Linked DNA regions of Homo sapiens: region 2 is linked to region 1. Evidence: promoter capture Hi-C in 16 types of primary human blood cells and fetal thymus (Javierre and others, 2016). All regions are on one chromosome and are shown on one strand. The core of a region is centred on a gene start or on the middle of the fragment in contact, and the rest is flanking DNA. Distances in the headings are between cores, read along the strand shown. Region 1 holds the start of SORBS1 (sorbin and SH3 domain containing 1). Region 2 holds the start of ENTPD1-AS1 (ENTPD1 antisense RNA 1).

The links. Contacts are between HindIII fragments. The CHiCAGO score rates a contact against its expected background, and 5 or more counts as called.
Region 2: a contact is called between a fragment that was not itself captured here and the fragment with the promoter of SORBS1 in region 1, in 1 of 17 cell types (total CD8 T cells). The highest score is 5.1, in total CD8 T cells.

Annotation. Positions count from the first base shown.
Region 1 is chr10:95,559,945-95,567,250 of GRCh38, reverse strand. It overlaps SORBS1 (sorbin and SH3 domain containing 1), which reads left to right and starts at 5,880. Exons shown (of 33, transcript NM_001034954.3): 1 at 5,880-5,931. RefSeq lists silencers at 5,531-5,900, 5,941-6,050 and an enhancer at 5,535-6,297. The HindIII fragment of the contact is 3,213 bases long and covers 5,005-7,306 here.
Region 2 is chr10:96,087,567-96,094,255 of GRCh38, reverse strand. ENTPD1-AS1 (ENTPD1 antisense RNA 1) reads left to right here and starts at 4,021. Exons shown (of 6, transcript NR_038444.1): 1 at 4,021-4,274; 2 at 4,949-4,990. RefSeq lists enhancers at 3,872-3,921, 3,932-4,301. The HindIII fragment of the contact is 2,317 bases long and covers 2,583-4,899 here.

The sequences.
Region 1 (7,306 bases), core at 4,631-7,130:
CCTCCATTTCCTGGGTTCAAGCAATTCTCTTTCCTCAGCCTCCCGAGTAGCTGGGATTACAGGCACCTGCCACAACACCTGCATAATTTTTGTATTTTTAGTAGAGGTGGGGTTTCGCTGTGTTGGCCAGGCTGGTCTCATCTCAAACTCCTAGCCTCAAGTGATTCACCCGCCTCACCCTCCCAAAGTGCTGAGATTATAAGTGTGAGCCACCATGCCTGGCCTTGCCCAGTTAATTTTTAAAAATTTATTTGTGGAGATAGAGTCTTGCTATGTTGCCCAGGCTGGTCTCAAACTCCTGGCCTCAAGTGATCCTCCTGCCTCAGCCTCCCAAAGCACTGAGATTATAGGAATGAGCCACTGTGCCTGGTCAGGCCAACATTTTAAATGTCTTTATTTTGACTATCTAATAGCATAAAATAATCTCCAAGCCAAACCTTGGATATTTGGTCAAATACAGTACAATATTTGGGGTGCTATTATGTGTACAAGTTTTCTCCCAAGCAACAACACAAGACACACTGGAGCAAGTGTTTTTATTTTTATTACCTTTTAGATACAGCATCTTGCTCTGTTATCCAGGCTGGAGTGCAGTGGTGCAATCATAGCTCACTATAACCTCAAACTCCTAGGATCAAGTGACCTCCCAACTCAGCCTCCCAAAGCACTGGGATTACAGGCGCGCACCAGTGTGCCAGCCAGAGCCAGTGTTTATAGATTGATAAACAGAGGCCCTGTGACCAGAGTCCTGGGGTTACTCATACTCATCCTATCCCTGCTTCCCAAGCACAGCAATCCCTCCTACTCCTCTGGGTTTCTACCTGGCCCCATAGACTTCTCTTGATCAACCTCCACCATTTCACCAAACTTCCCTAAAGCATTGTCCACCAGCATTGACCTCTAAGGAATGTGGAATTCTTGGCTCGGGCGTTCCATCATCTTCAAATCAGTTCCGTGCCCTGAGGCACGCGTTTGTAGATTTACTTTTTTCTCAGTAATTAATCAGTAAGAAACAAGACAATCAGTTATTAAGGAGTTTTGCTCTTTCCACTACTTGCTTCGCTTTCTGTAAGATGCTACAGAAGGCATTAGACAAAAATCATCAAGGGGTGTTTGGTGATACAGCAGCAAAACTCTTTGATTCATAACTCTCTTTCTCTCATTTGGTTTTCTTCTTTTCTCCTGGCATTCTCCAGCACGGCATCTCTGAAAATGACTATGGTCAATATTTCGGGTAACTGGGAAAACAACTTACCAAAACCAACGTGTTCTAAGAAGTTGTCTTTCTCAACACTGCCTCCTAGTAATGTTAAAATAATATTCACTTATTGATGCTTATGTGTGTCAGGCAGTGTGTAGGCACTATCCATGCACGATCTCATCTTCAGCTTGCAAGTAAACCTATGGAGGGTTGTGTTTTCTCCAGGTTACAGATGAGAGAAGTCTGCACACTAGGCACTGGAGCTAGGATTCTGCCAGGTGTCTCTGGAGCCCGCAGCCTTAACTGTTATGCTACTGCCAGCTCCAGGGCCTCTAGTTTATTTCCCTCTCTCCCAATCTGTGTGGCTCTGAAGATGAAGTAAAGGCTGACGACTCTGGGCTGTCCTCTGAAAAATCCTGCTCCCTCCTTTCCTAATTCCTCACACTTATGACCTGCTTGGGGATGCGTCCCACAGCATGTTTATGATCCTGGTTTGTGTGCATGACTCTCCGCCTGATATTTTAAATTCTCTCCAACAGCGGAAGGACTGCTGGGAATAATCTGATACACATGAAGAGAAAACGAGGAGTTACTAATAAGATTAAATTAAACTTAAGCACATTTTAAACAGCGTGTAAAACACAGGACTAAGCACTGTTTGAGATGAGCAGACACAAGGCACGACCTCATGGAATTTACAATCTGCTGGGGAGAGGAAATGAGGGATAAGACTACACACAAATATACAGGAGTTTATGCCAAATATGGCAAGTTCCATGAGAAAGGAAGAAATGAAGCACTGTAGGGCTGGAAGGCAGGAGTCCTCCCGTTTCCCTGTGGACCCAGGTTTAAGAGAAACGGTGGAGACTGAGACTGGAGAACAGGAAGTTTTACTGTTTTACTCAAGGGTCAGTCACTGATGCACTGACAAGGCCTCAAGGTTCACCCTCCCCAGGACAAGTTACATAATTTACAGGGCTCAGTTCAAAAATTAAAGGCAGGGCCCTTTGTTCAAAAATGAAGAATTTCAAGATGGTGACAGCAGAGCATGTAATCAAGTGTGGGGCCCTCCTCAGCACAGGTTGCATCCACACAGGGCTGGCCCTGCCCAAACGAACCTCCCTGGGCCTCTGATTCCCTAGGGCTCACCTTTGGGAAGTAGGGAGCAAGTATCTCTCTCACCACCTTGTAGCCAGCACCTAGCTCAGGGCCTGCTGCCCAGATGAATCTATGAATGACTGGAGATAGGATGAACTGACACGATTACACCTGATGATTTCTTGGGTTGCTTTCAGCGTTAAAACATTGAAGGACTGGCCAGGTGTGGTGGCTCACGCCTGTAATCCCAGCACTTGGGGAGGCTGAGGGGGGCAGATCGCTTGAGTCCAGGAGTTTGAGACCAGCCTGGCAAAATGGTGAAACTCTGTCTCTACCAAAAATACACAAAATTAGCTGGCCACAGTGGCCCATGTCTGTAGTCCCAGCTACTTGGGAGGGTGAGGCAGGAGGATCCCTTGAGCCCAGAAGATCAAGGCTGCAGTGAGCCGAGATTGCGCCATTGCATTCCAGCCTGGGTGACAGGAATGAGTGAAACCCTGTTTCAAAAACAGAAACAAAAACAAAAACCCAACCCATCGAAAGACCGTGACTTTCAACATTTCTTGGAGGAGACACCTGAGATGAGTCCTGAAGGACAGTAGGATTTTTCTTTTCTTTTCTTTTTTTGAGATGGAGTCTCGCTCTGTCGCCAGGCTGGAGTGCAGTGGTGTGGTCTTGGCTCACTGCAACCTCCACCTCCTGGGTTCAAGCGATTCTCCTGCCTCAGCCTCCCGAGTAGCTGAGATTACAGGTGCGTGCCACCACGCCTGGCTAATTTTTTGTATTTTTAGTAGAGATGGGGTTTCACCATGTTGGCCAGGCTGGTCTCGAACTCCTGACCTCGTGATCCGCCTGCCTCGGCCTCCCAAAGTGCTGGGATTACTGGCGTGAGCCACTGCGCCTGGCCACCAGTAGGATTTTTCTTTCTGTTTTTTCCACTTTCCTTCTTTCTTGACTTTCCACTATTTTACCATTTCTTTCATAAATCCTAATGGCAATGTTATGCCTTACAGTGAGACATGCAACAGTGACACAGACTGGAAACAGCAGAGAGGTTCAATATTTGAGGGATGACCTGAAGCCTTAGGCCTCCCTTAAGATTCCTTGAGATAGTGTAGATGAAATCTTCATTGATAGAGTCTGGTTTTTCATCTTAAAATTATTTTATTTTCACTGGACAAGTTGGTAGATGTTTATGAAGAAAAAAATCAGAAGACTATGGATGAGCAAAAATAATTACTTGCAATCCCATAAGAATAGTTCTAATGGGATTGCAGTATAAAACTAGTTTTCTACCTATTTTTCCATTCAATAATCTGAGCATCTTTTTTTTTTTTCTTTTTTTTGAGATGGAGTCTTATTCTGTTGCCCAGGCTGTAGTGCAGTGGCACGATCTTGGCTCACTGCAACCTCCGCCTCCCAGGCTCAGGCAATTCTCCTGCCTCAGCCTCCCACAGGTGCACGCCACCATGCCCAGCTAATTTTGGATTCTTTAGTAGAGATGGGGTTTCACCATGTTTCCCAGGCTGGTCTCAAACTCCTGAGCTCAGGTGATCCACCGCTGCCCACCTTGGCCTCCTAGAGTGCTGGGATTACAGGCGTGAGCCACCACTCCCAGCCTATTATGAGCATCTTTATGTGTCAATAAACCTCTTCATTTTTTGTAGCTATTAATATATGATATTCTGTCATATGGTTGTACTATTATTAACCAATGCACTCAAATTGGATATTTGGATTGTTTTGATTTTTTTTTTTTTTGGCTATTCTAAAATGGTGTTGCCCTGAATTTGCTGGGTAAGTAACTAGTCTCTCTACCCTTTGTTATACACCTCTGTGGATAACCTCAGGATAACGACACTATTCCCACCTGGGGTCGTGTGGTGGATGTGAGTTAACGCATGTAAAGCTCTTAGCACAAGTATAGTACGGTGCATAGCAGCCTAGACGTGCTCAATAAATACTAGCTGTTTTATTACTTTATAGCCCAGAGAGAGCTGTCTTACACAGATTGTGGAGTAAATAAATAGGAGAGCCGGGGAAGTGTTCTTTGAAAAGCTGCAGGATGAGGTGCAGATAGGGGAAGGCCGTGGGCTGGGGGCTCCCTAGGTTGAGTAGTTCCCCAGTGTTTTCTCATTTATAGAGTAAGCTTCCAGATGGCTAGGACTCTTCTTTTTTTTTTTAATACACAGCAGAGGACACCAGGTGGTCACCAAAGACTTGTCACCGTTCCCTGACATCTAAGAATCTTTGCTGATGAGTTTCCGATCAGTCTGTGCAGTTATCAAGGCCAGTCTTTACCCTGCCACCCACAGCCTGTTCACTGAGAATGTGCTCTGGCTGAAGATGCTTGCAAGGGCAGCTGACAAAAATCAGTTGTGCTCAGCCCAAAGGGCGAGTGTCTTATCTTCAGGGATGTGGGAAGCTGGGCATGGAGGGAGCAAGTTCCAGACCAGTACTTGCTGGCTCTGCGACCTTGGGCCAGCAGATTCCCCACTCTGATCCCTGTCTCTGTTTCCTTTTCTGTAACTCTGAGGGGGACTAGAGGAGGTCAGGAGAATGGCATAGCACAGTGGTTAGCTCTGAACCCCATCTAACACGGTGCCTTCCCCCCACTTGCAATGACCTTGTTGCATTGTATGCACTCTACTTTTCACATTGTAGAGGATCTTATTTATTTACTTGTCTCCACTAAAATGGAAGCTTCCTAAGGGAAAAGGCCTTGCCTGTCTTGTTCTCTGCAGTTAACACTGGGGTCCAGCACTGCCACAGAGCCTCTAAATATATGTGTGTTGCATGAGTGAAATCTCAGAGCCTGGGTTCAAATCCTGGTTGCACCACTTGCTGTGTGACCTCGGACAAGCCACTTAAACTACACCTCAGTTTTCCTGCATAAAAATAGTAATTATTTTCAGTTTTCTCACTAGAAAAATATGGATTAGTAATCGTTCCTCTCTTATCAGGCTAAGAGGATCAAATGAGGAAATATCCGGGAAGCATTAAGCACACTGGCTGGTACAGAGCACACGAATGACAACAGCAAACGTTTATGTAGCACGACGGCCAGGAACTGATCAAAATGCATCACCTATGTTAACTATGTTAATCTTCACTAGATTTTACGAAGTCGGACTATTATGCCATTTTACAGATGGGTAAACTGAGGCCCAGGAGTTAAATAACTTATCACTGTTATTTTACGTCTAAGGTTCCTTCCAAGCTCCCCGTGGGCGACCCTTCCGAAGGACCAGAAGGCGCGCCAGGCCAGCGTCCGGCCCGGCCAGGACGGAAAGGGTTACTAGGCCCGCGCGCCCGTTACCGGCGGAGGCCGGCGGGCTCACAATGCCAGGAGCCGGGCGCCGGACACTTCTTCGCCTCCCATCCGCGCACACGCCCCTTCCTGTCACGGCTGGGCCCGGCCCCGCCCCCGGCACCGCCCGCTGGCCGGGCGCTGCCAGAGTGGACGGTTCCAGAGGCATGCTAATGAGGGGGCGGGCACCGCAGCCCATTGGTTGTCCGCGGAGTGTCGGTGAAGTCAGCGCTGAGTCCCAGAAAAACAGAGCGGGGCCAGCTGCAGCGTGTAGTGCGAGTGGGGCGGACGCGCGCAGCCCGCCCGCCCGGCGACCAGCAAGGTAAGCCCGCGCTCGCCCGCCCGGCCGCGCTTGCCCGCTCGGCGGCGGCAGCGCCGGGGGTGTGCGCGGCTCGGCCCCCGCGGGCGGCGCCTTTGTTCCGCGCTCGGAGGAGGCGCATTTAAAGGGCCAGCTGTTGGAGGGACTTGGGGGACCCCCTCCCCCAGAGCATCCCCCCATGGGCACAGGGAAAGCGGTGGTCCCTCGCGGCCGAACCGTCCATCCTGCCTGCTCGGCGAATCCCCAGTCTTTCAAGGAAAGTTCCCCAGGGTGCGGAGGATCTGGGGGCTTCCAGGGTTGGGGGTTTTTAAATTTCCTTTTTTGGTGGGTGTGGGGTAGTACGATCATGGCCTCTGCTAGGAGAGAATGTCCGCCCGTCTCAGGGTGGCTGCAATTTGGGTGGGTGGAGGAGACATCAAAGCCCGAATGGGTTTGTGCTGTAAAGTGAAACTACCGAGGAGGGGCACCTCTGCAGCAGCCAGAGGAAGGCGGAGGGAGCGAGCGGCGGGATGGAGGCATCTCAGGTGTGTTCATTCATCAGCATCCCCTGGAGAGGGCGGCGGGAGGGGCGCAAGGACGACGCGGTTGGCCGGACCCGCCTGAATGAACGGGGACTAGTATGCGCCGGGGACACGGCGCCTGCCCGTGCCGCCCGTGCCCCTTCTTCTCCCCGAGTGGCTGACAGCATCTTGCTAGGCAGCTCATCACCGACATGGACAGCAAGCAACTCCTTTCTCCGAATTCCCCGGGCATCCCCTGCTACCACCTCGCTGCTTTCCGATGTGGCTTCCTTGATACGTGGTAGCGCCATTCAAGATAGAGGGGAAAGAGGCTTGAAGTCATTATGTTTCCTTCATGGGGGAATGTGCTGTCGAATTCTGCATCCCCATGCATCCGCTGTCGTAAGATGGCTTTGAAATTCACCAGTGCATGCTTTCTCCAGGCAGACAAGAATTTATTACGCTATTACATTGCTACGTAAAAGCAGAAGGGATCCCACTGAGCATGGCTCGTTTTGTTCAGTCCTCGGTTTTTCCCAGCATGTTCTGGGCGAGCCTTTGGATTTTTGTTTTAAACACTGAGCGTTGGGATGCCCCTGTTGTCACAGGGCCGACCTGCTGAAATTGCTGGAATTGGTTTCATCGTCAATAGGAGGGAGGTTCATCTAGAGACATCATGGAACCTATCTGGCGTGTCAGGCCTCTGACTCCATCTCTCCCCTCAACACCCCCCCCCCCGCCCAGCCCCCCGCGCCCTTTTTTCCTCTTAAGTGGAGGCGGGGGATGGATTGGCTGTCTTCACTCTCCTTGTGTTTTGAGCTCCTCTGCTTAGATTCAATTCTGTGGTTTTGGTTGGAAAGGTATCTTGGTGGTGATCG
Region 2 (6,689 bases), core at 2,492-4,991, 530 kb before region 1:
TCATAAATAGAAGCAGTAACATATCCCTTATCAGAATAGTTCCACTGTTTACTAAGTCCCTGTAGCTAAGTACAAGCCCCAGGGCTTAGCCCAAGTCCTGATCACTATGTACACAGAGTCTGTTGTGGGTTTCCTCATGAGTTCAGTAGTGTGAACATTAGCGTGTGACATCCTCTGCTCTGCAGAACACAAAAATAACAGGGTCCTCTGGGTATCCAACTTTCCTTGACAAGATTAAAGTAATGTCTAAAGAGCTCTAAAAGTGTCACAAACGATCTATAGACATCATATTTACATTTGTTCATAAAGATACAGGGCTGCAAAGTCACCATAGCATAACTTCTCCTTAAGAGTGTGAGACATAAACACAGACCTAATGTTCTCATGACCGCCCCTACCCAAAAAAGGTATCTCTGTGTTGCAGAGTCACACTCTGTGATGGATTGAACGTTTGTGTGCCCGTCAAATTCATATGGTAAAGCCCTAACCCCCGCTGTGGCTATATCTGGAGATGGGGCCTCTAAGGAAGTAATTAAGATGAAATGAGGTCATAAGGGTGGGTCCCTGATCTGACAGAATTAGTGTCTTATAAGAAGATACACCAGAAAGTTCTCTCTCTTTCTCTTCCACGCCTCTTCATCTCGAGTATGTACCGAGGAAAGGCCATATGAGGATATTGTGAGAAGGCAGCCAGCTGCAACCCAGGAAGAATGCCCCTCACCAGAAAGCAAATTGGTCAAAACCCTGGTTTTGAACTTTGAGCTTCCAGGACAGTGAGAAAATAAATCTCTGTGTGTAAGCCACTCAGTCTATGGTATTTTGGCTGTGTCAACAGACTAATACACACTCCAAAAAAAGAGTGTGTAGAAATTTTTGTTTCAGCGTCATTTTCAAATTGTCCTCTGCTAAAATCTACTTTAATCCCGGCATGGTCATAAGCTGGTTTTACACTCTAGACCTGCTTGAAACTTAAACTTGGCTCACTCTCACGGGTGATTTTTAGGTTCGTTGGATGCTGCAACTCCTATGACACACAGAATGATCAAACATGGATTCCTGGGACTTGGGACTTTTGGTACTAAAGCAGGGAAAGTCCAAGGGCACTGGACAAGTTGGTCACTCTAGATAGGCAATACATTCTGTTCCTCCAGCTATTGCTCCATCTACAGCTATGGCTTCTCTAACAATCCATACCATACAGATTCTCTCCATACACAAGAGTCAAAAAGGTCTCAGGCCAACTTTCTCTTTTTTTCACGTGGCCCACATCTGCTGCACGAGAAACACTCAGGCATCATTTGCCTTGACAAACTACGGCAGTGACTACAGATCCCAACATAGCAACTTTCCTTCACTCCTATGCCAAAATTCTCACTGGCCCATCTCTCCTACCCCTGGGATTTCCCAGATGTGAGTCACGATACTACTGTACCTCTCAAAACCCAGGAAATGCATGTCAAGTTCTCTGAGTATTGCTATTGAAGCCCCCTTCACTAGACTTGAAGGTGACTGGGGAAGCATATAACAATGGCTCTCCCCAAAACTTCTCCTCATAAACTCATCTCTTTCAACATCTTCTTTTAACCCATGAAACTGGTGAAAGGTTCCAATAGCGGCAAAACCAGTTCTTGGACTGTGGCTGCCAATACAGGGAGCAAAACTGATCAAGGGCTCTAGATGCTTGCTGCACTCTGAATTCCCTGGCCACATTTTCACCCATGGGCTGCTCCAGCCGGTGACTGAGAGCAGCACAGATAATAAGGCAGGCTGGCTCCTGAAAGAAGGACTCCTCTGACAGGTGATTTTGGCTTGAGGATTTCCAATAGCCTTTCTAAATCTTGCTTAGACTGTTTGGCAGTCCAGGAAACTTCCACCACCCTTCCCTCTCTCTCTGCTTTACTCAATTTCAGACTTGCAGCCTCTCCCAGTCTTGCTTGGCTCCCGCCCATTCTCTCTCACAGGTGTTTCCTCTAATAAAATTGTTGCACATTTAATCCCATCATAACAACTTCTCATCAGAGCCAGACTAATGTAAAGACATTTCTTTGGAAAACATGCATCTTGTCAGCACCTCACTTTGGCGTTTCATAGTTGTTGCTTTATAATGCTGCAGGCAAAACTTCCAGTTTATAGTTATACTACTAACCACAGGATGAATGAATGACATGGTAAGATAAAAAAACAGGAAAAATGATGGGATTTTACTTTACATTTCTTGTTGTTCAACCCCTCCATTTTTGTTAAAATATATGTCTAATTTGAATGCGCATCAAGATGAATTTTTAGTAAGACTTATCACTGTGGGTGCTGAGTATGTGAGCAGGAACATCATAGATGCTAATTTACCTTTTAGTAGGCAACCAGGCCTGTGCCAGGACTTGGATAAGAAGGCTGTTACATGCTACCCTGGAGTTCCAAAGTAACCCCAATATCACCATCTGTCTTTGTTCCTCCACATTTTCTTCTTCCCGTGATCCCTTCTCATTTTTCCTTTCTATCTTCTTTTACTTGTTTTGTCACTGCTTTAGAAGTCACTAATAAGCAATAGTGGGAAGTAGAGTATGTGAATAAAGAATGAAGCTTTCTTTGGCAGTCTGAAATAAATTGCTTAAAACTGTACCCCAAAGCAGCCAGAATAAAAATAGCTTTTTATATTTGTTCTCCACCATTTCAAGTATCCAAACGCCCCACATGACTTGACCCCTGCAACTTTGTTTTAGGGAAGACTTTTGGTGGTAGCATACTCTCATACGAAAGTGTGTGAAAAACATCAATTTGCTTTTTTACTTTTCCTGTGAGGATTATAGAACCAAAACAAAATATCGAAAATTTTGAGAATACACTGACTCACAAAAATCCAATGCTTTTCTAGTCAAACAGGATTTCTCTACGTGATTTGTATCAAGGACGGTCATTTATCAAAATGTGACAACATGCCTTTGCCGTCATTATAACAGCAGGCAATTAAAAATGTTTTTACCATAGCCAGTTTGCTTATTTTTCTATTTTAAAAGGGTTTTATAGCAGATATGCAAAAGAGAAAGCAGAGAGAAAAAAATAAAATCACTCTCTATTCAAACACTATCACTGTTAATTTTGATGTATTTCTTGTGTTTTTCTAGGCATAATTTGTTTTTACAAAAACATAGCCTTAGTGGCTAGTCCCACTTTATTATGTGAGTACTGGTCAATGCAGAAAGAAGACTAAACAAACTACAGATTGGTTTTCAGTCATATTCTAAAGAAACAGAAGCCAAACAAACACTTGGTCTGGTGGAAAGTCCAAGATTATGGTCCTTGGCCCTCTGTTAAGGCCAGCTAGAGTATCTGGTGATGGTGAGAGGCCTCCAACTGTCTTAGTCCTGGATTTAAAAGGGCCTAAACGGAGCTAAAATGTTCCCCAGAGCCTAGCAATCATTGACAGTTTCCTCAGGTAACCAGCGCTGCAGACGGAGAATGCTGCAAAGGCAAGGTGTCAGAAACCAATTGAAATCCGAGGTTCAGCCAAGGGGACCCAGGCACACACGTGGGCCTTGTGTTCACCATAAAGAGCATACTGGCTACAAGTTGGCCCCTCTCTGGGCAACAGAGTGCCTAACTTAAAGGGGCTTACGAGGATGCCATGCGCCAACAGCTCTGGTTTTACAAAATGGAGTCACCAGGGAGAACGCGGTGTCTGGGTTAGACCACGTTCACCAAGTACCAGCTATACGATCTCGGACAAATTTACTTGCCCTCTCTTAACCTTAGTTTCCCCATATATAAAATGTAAGTGATACATTTCTGACTGCTGGGATTGTAAGGAAGGGATTAAATGGCTTGCCAATGAGGTGTTCAGCACAATGCCTGCCTAACACGTAAAACGTGTTGGGGTTGGTTGGTTGTAAGACCCACAACCTCTCTCCCCACTCTACCCCCGCCCCGCCACCAGCAGCCCAGCTGCAGCCGCTTCCGGGAACCACTTCGCTTCGGTCTCCCACTGCCGAACGCGGATCCCTCCGCGTTGCGTCACTTCCGGGAGACTCTGGCCGCGGCGATTCAATATATCCGGAAGCAACTGTCATGGCTGCTGTCAGTGAGGGCCCGTAATGGAGATCGAGTCAAGGGTTGCCCAGGGACACTTAAGAGCCTTCGGCTTCAAGGAGGCCTCTCAAAGGACAAAGGATGAGACTGCCTGGCGGCAGAGTGCCCCCCACAATCGTAGGAACTGTGTCGCCGCGCTTCCCGTTAACTTGCCGCTAAGTTTTTCTAGAAAAGTCGCCCTTCTTGCCAGGGTGGGACCTCACTTCTGACCTAGCCCTTCTTTGTGTACCAAGTTTTTGTTTCCGTCATTTCCCGCAGCCCGGGAGCTCGGCGGGCGATACTGTGGTAGCCTGGGAGGAAGGGGCGGGCCGGATGCTGGAACCGAGAGAGGTGGGGCTCGTCGAGGAGTCACGGGCGGCCGAGGCTGGAGTCTCCTAAATGCAACCTTGAGCTGTTCCACCCTTTGGTGCTTGGTCTGTTAGCTCGAGGTGCTCCTCACCGTGGAGGCGTTTAGAGCTGGTCATAAGGCTCTTACCTGCTGACCCAACCACCCTCAACCACAGCTTGCCCTGCTCCAGATAGACTTTGATCCTAGAAAATATCTAAGATGGGTGTAGTGCAGTATGTTATTGTTTTAAGTCTCAAACATAAGCAAACTATTATTAAAAGTTTTAGAATTAATAGGCAGAGTTCACATATTGGGTCGTGTTATTGTTTTAAGGTTTAAATTTAGATAACATGTTAGTACTTGTTGAGATTTTAACAAAAGCATTAAAAAAATGAGAAAATAGATTAATCTTTAGAATATTTTAAGTTTGCTACTGCGCAGTGGTAACATGAAGACACCTCATAATAAGTCTTTGATTACCAGAAGCTTCTGAAAGTAAAATTATGGGTATATTAATGTGAGTTTTCCTCTCTGCAGGGTGTCCTATAGACTTTGTCATGGAGTGAAACAGAAACAAATGTGAGTTAATCATTAACATTTCCTAGTGGTTAAAATTACTTTTTAAGCGCTTAACTGTGTATTTTTTAGATTGAAGATTTCAAATGAAATTTTGATTTGACTGAAATATTTAATATGTGATGAGTTGATATTAAAATACAGAAGATTACTATTTTTATAGAAACAATAATGTAGAAACTAATATTTGAAGCAGGTTTACTCCACATACTGTGTTATAATTTAAATTTTCACTTAAACTCTCAAAATCAGAAGAGCTGACCTAGTAAGGCTTAAACCTCTAAAACTTGTGGTTTTAACAAGGCTTAATATACGTAGTTATAATAGTTTTTAAAAAAATTGTTATCAAGTTCCTCAGGTGATTCTGATATAGTATTTTAAAGAAAGCAAAGAGAAATGATCTGTTTATACATTTTAAATATTTTGTTCCTTATTTATGTATTGAGACTGTGCTTATAAATGCATTCACACGCATTGAAGTACATAATTTGATCGTCATGCCAGCCTGGAATCTTGCTTTTTGTATGGTTTCTTGCAGGTAGGTCTATTGGGTTCTTGGCATAGTACCTGGACAAAACATTGTTAAGGTGGAAATTTTCATTGTATTTATCACTTCAAACACTTGACCAGTTTATTTAGTTTTCAAGCGCTTTAGACAACTATATGTGGGCTTGACTTAGTGTATAATAAATGTAAAGTTTGATCTCAAGTAGTTGACATTTATGGAGTATTTACCATATGCCAATCTTTGTGATAATTGCTAGACATATTTTATTTAATGCTTACAGCAGTACTGTGAGTTAGGTTTGTTAAATCCCTGTTTTAATAGATGGAGAAACTGAGGCAAGGACGGATTAAGTTACAAATCCGTCTTTGTAACTTAGAGCCATCTTCTTACCTACTTGTTTTGTATGACACCCTTTTCCTCCATATAACTGAACACTGGTAGAAGAGTGAATGACTGTAGAAAACAGACCTGGACTCTATTCTACCTGTCCAGCTTTGTAAACTAGGGCAAGTTGTGTGACCACTCTGAATTTCATTTTCCTCACCTATAATAAATGAAAACTTTGAACTATTATGTTTTATTGAATCTTGAATCATCAGAAATCCTTAAGGCTGGGTGTGGTGCTTCACGCCTGTAATCCCACCACTTTGGGAGGCCCAGATGGGAGGATTGCTTGAGGCCAGGAGTTTGAGACCAGCCTGGTCAGTCAGCATAGCGATATCCCATCTCTACCACAAAAAAAAAAAAAAAAATTCCTTAAAATGGTGCCTTTACCATCAAACCTGGGATTTTCTTCCAAGCCCCTAGTGCTCATTCTGAGTTTTGAAGTTTTGATGCACGGCAGTGCCAACTCCATCTCCATTGCCGTCTAGTCTGATTACATTGTAAGATGTGACTGATTTCAGAGATGTCAAAATGTAAAATAATGTGCATCTTGGAACTAATGAGCTCTTTTTCAACCCTGACTCTGTAACATCTGTGACTTTTTAACATTTTATTGCAGGATTAAGTATTTTTGAATGTAAATGATTCAAGATAACACATAGACTTCGTTTGATGACATCTGCAAAATAAATTTTTAAAAAATTTGGGCTTCATGATAATGGAAAAGTAGAAACTATGTTTGTCTTTATCACCTGTGAATCCCCCATATTGAGAACATGCCTGGCACATAGTGAGTGTTCAGTAATCATT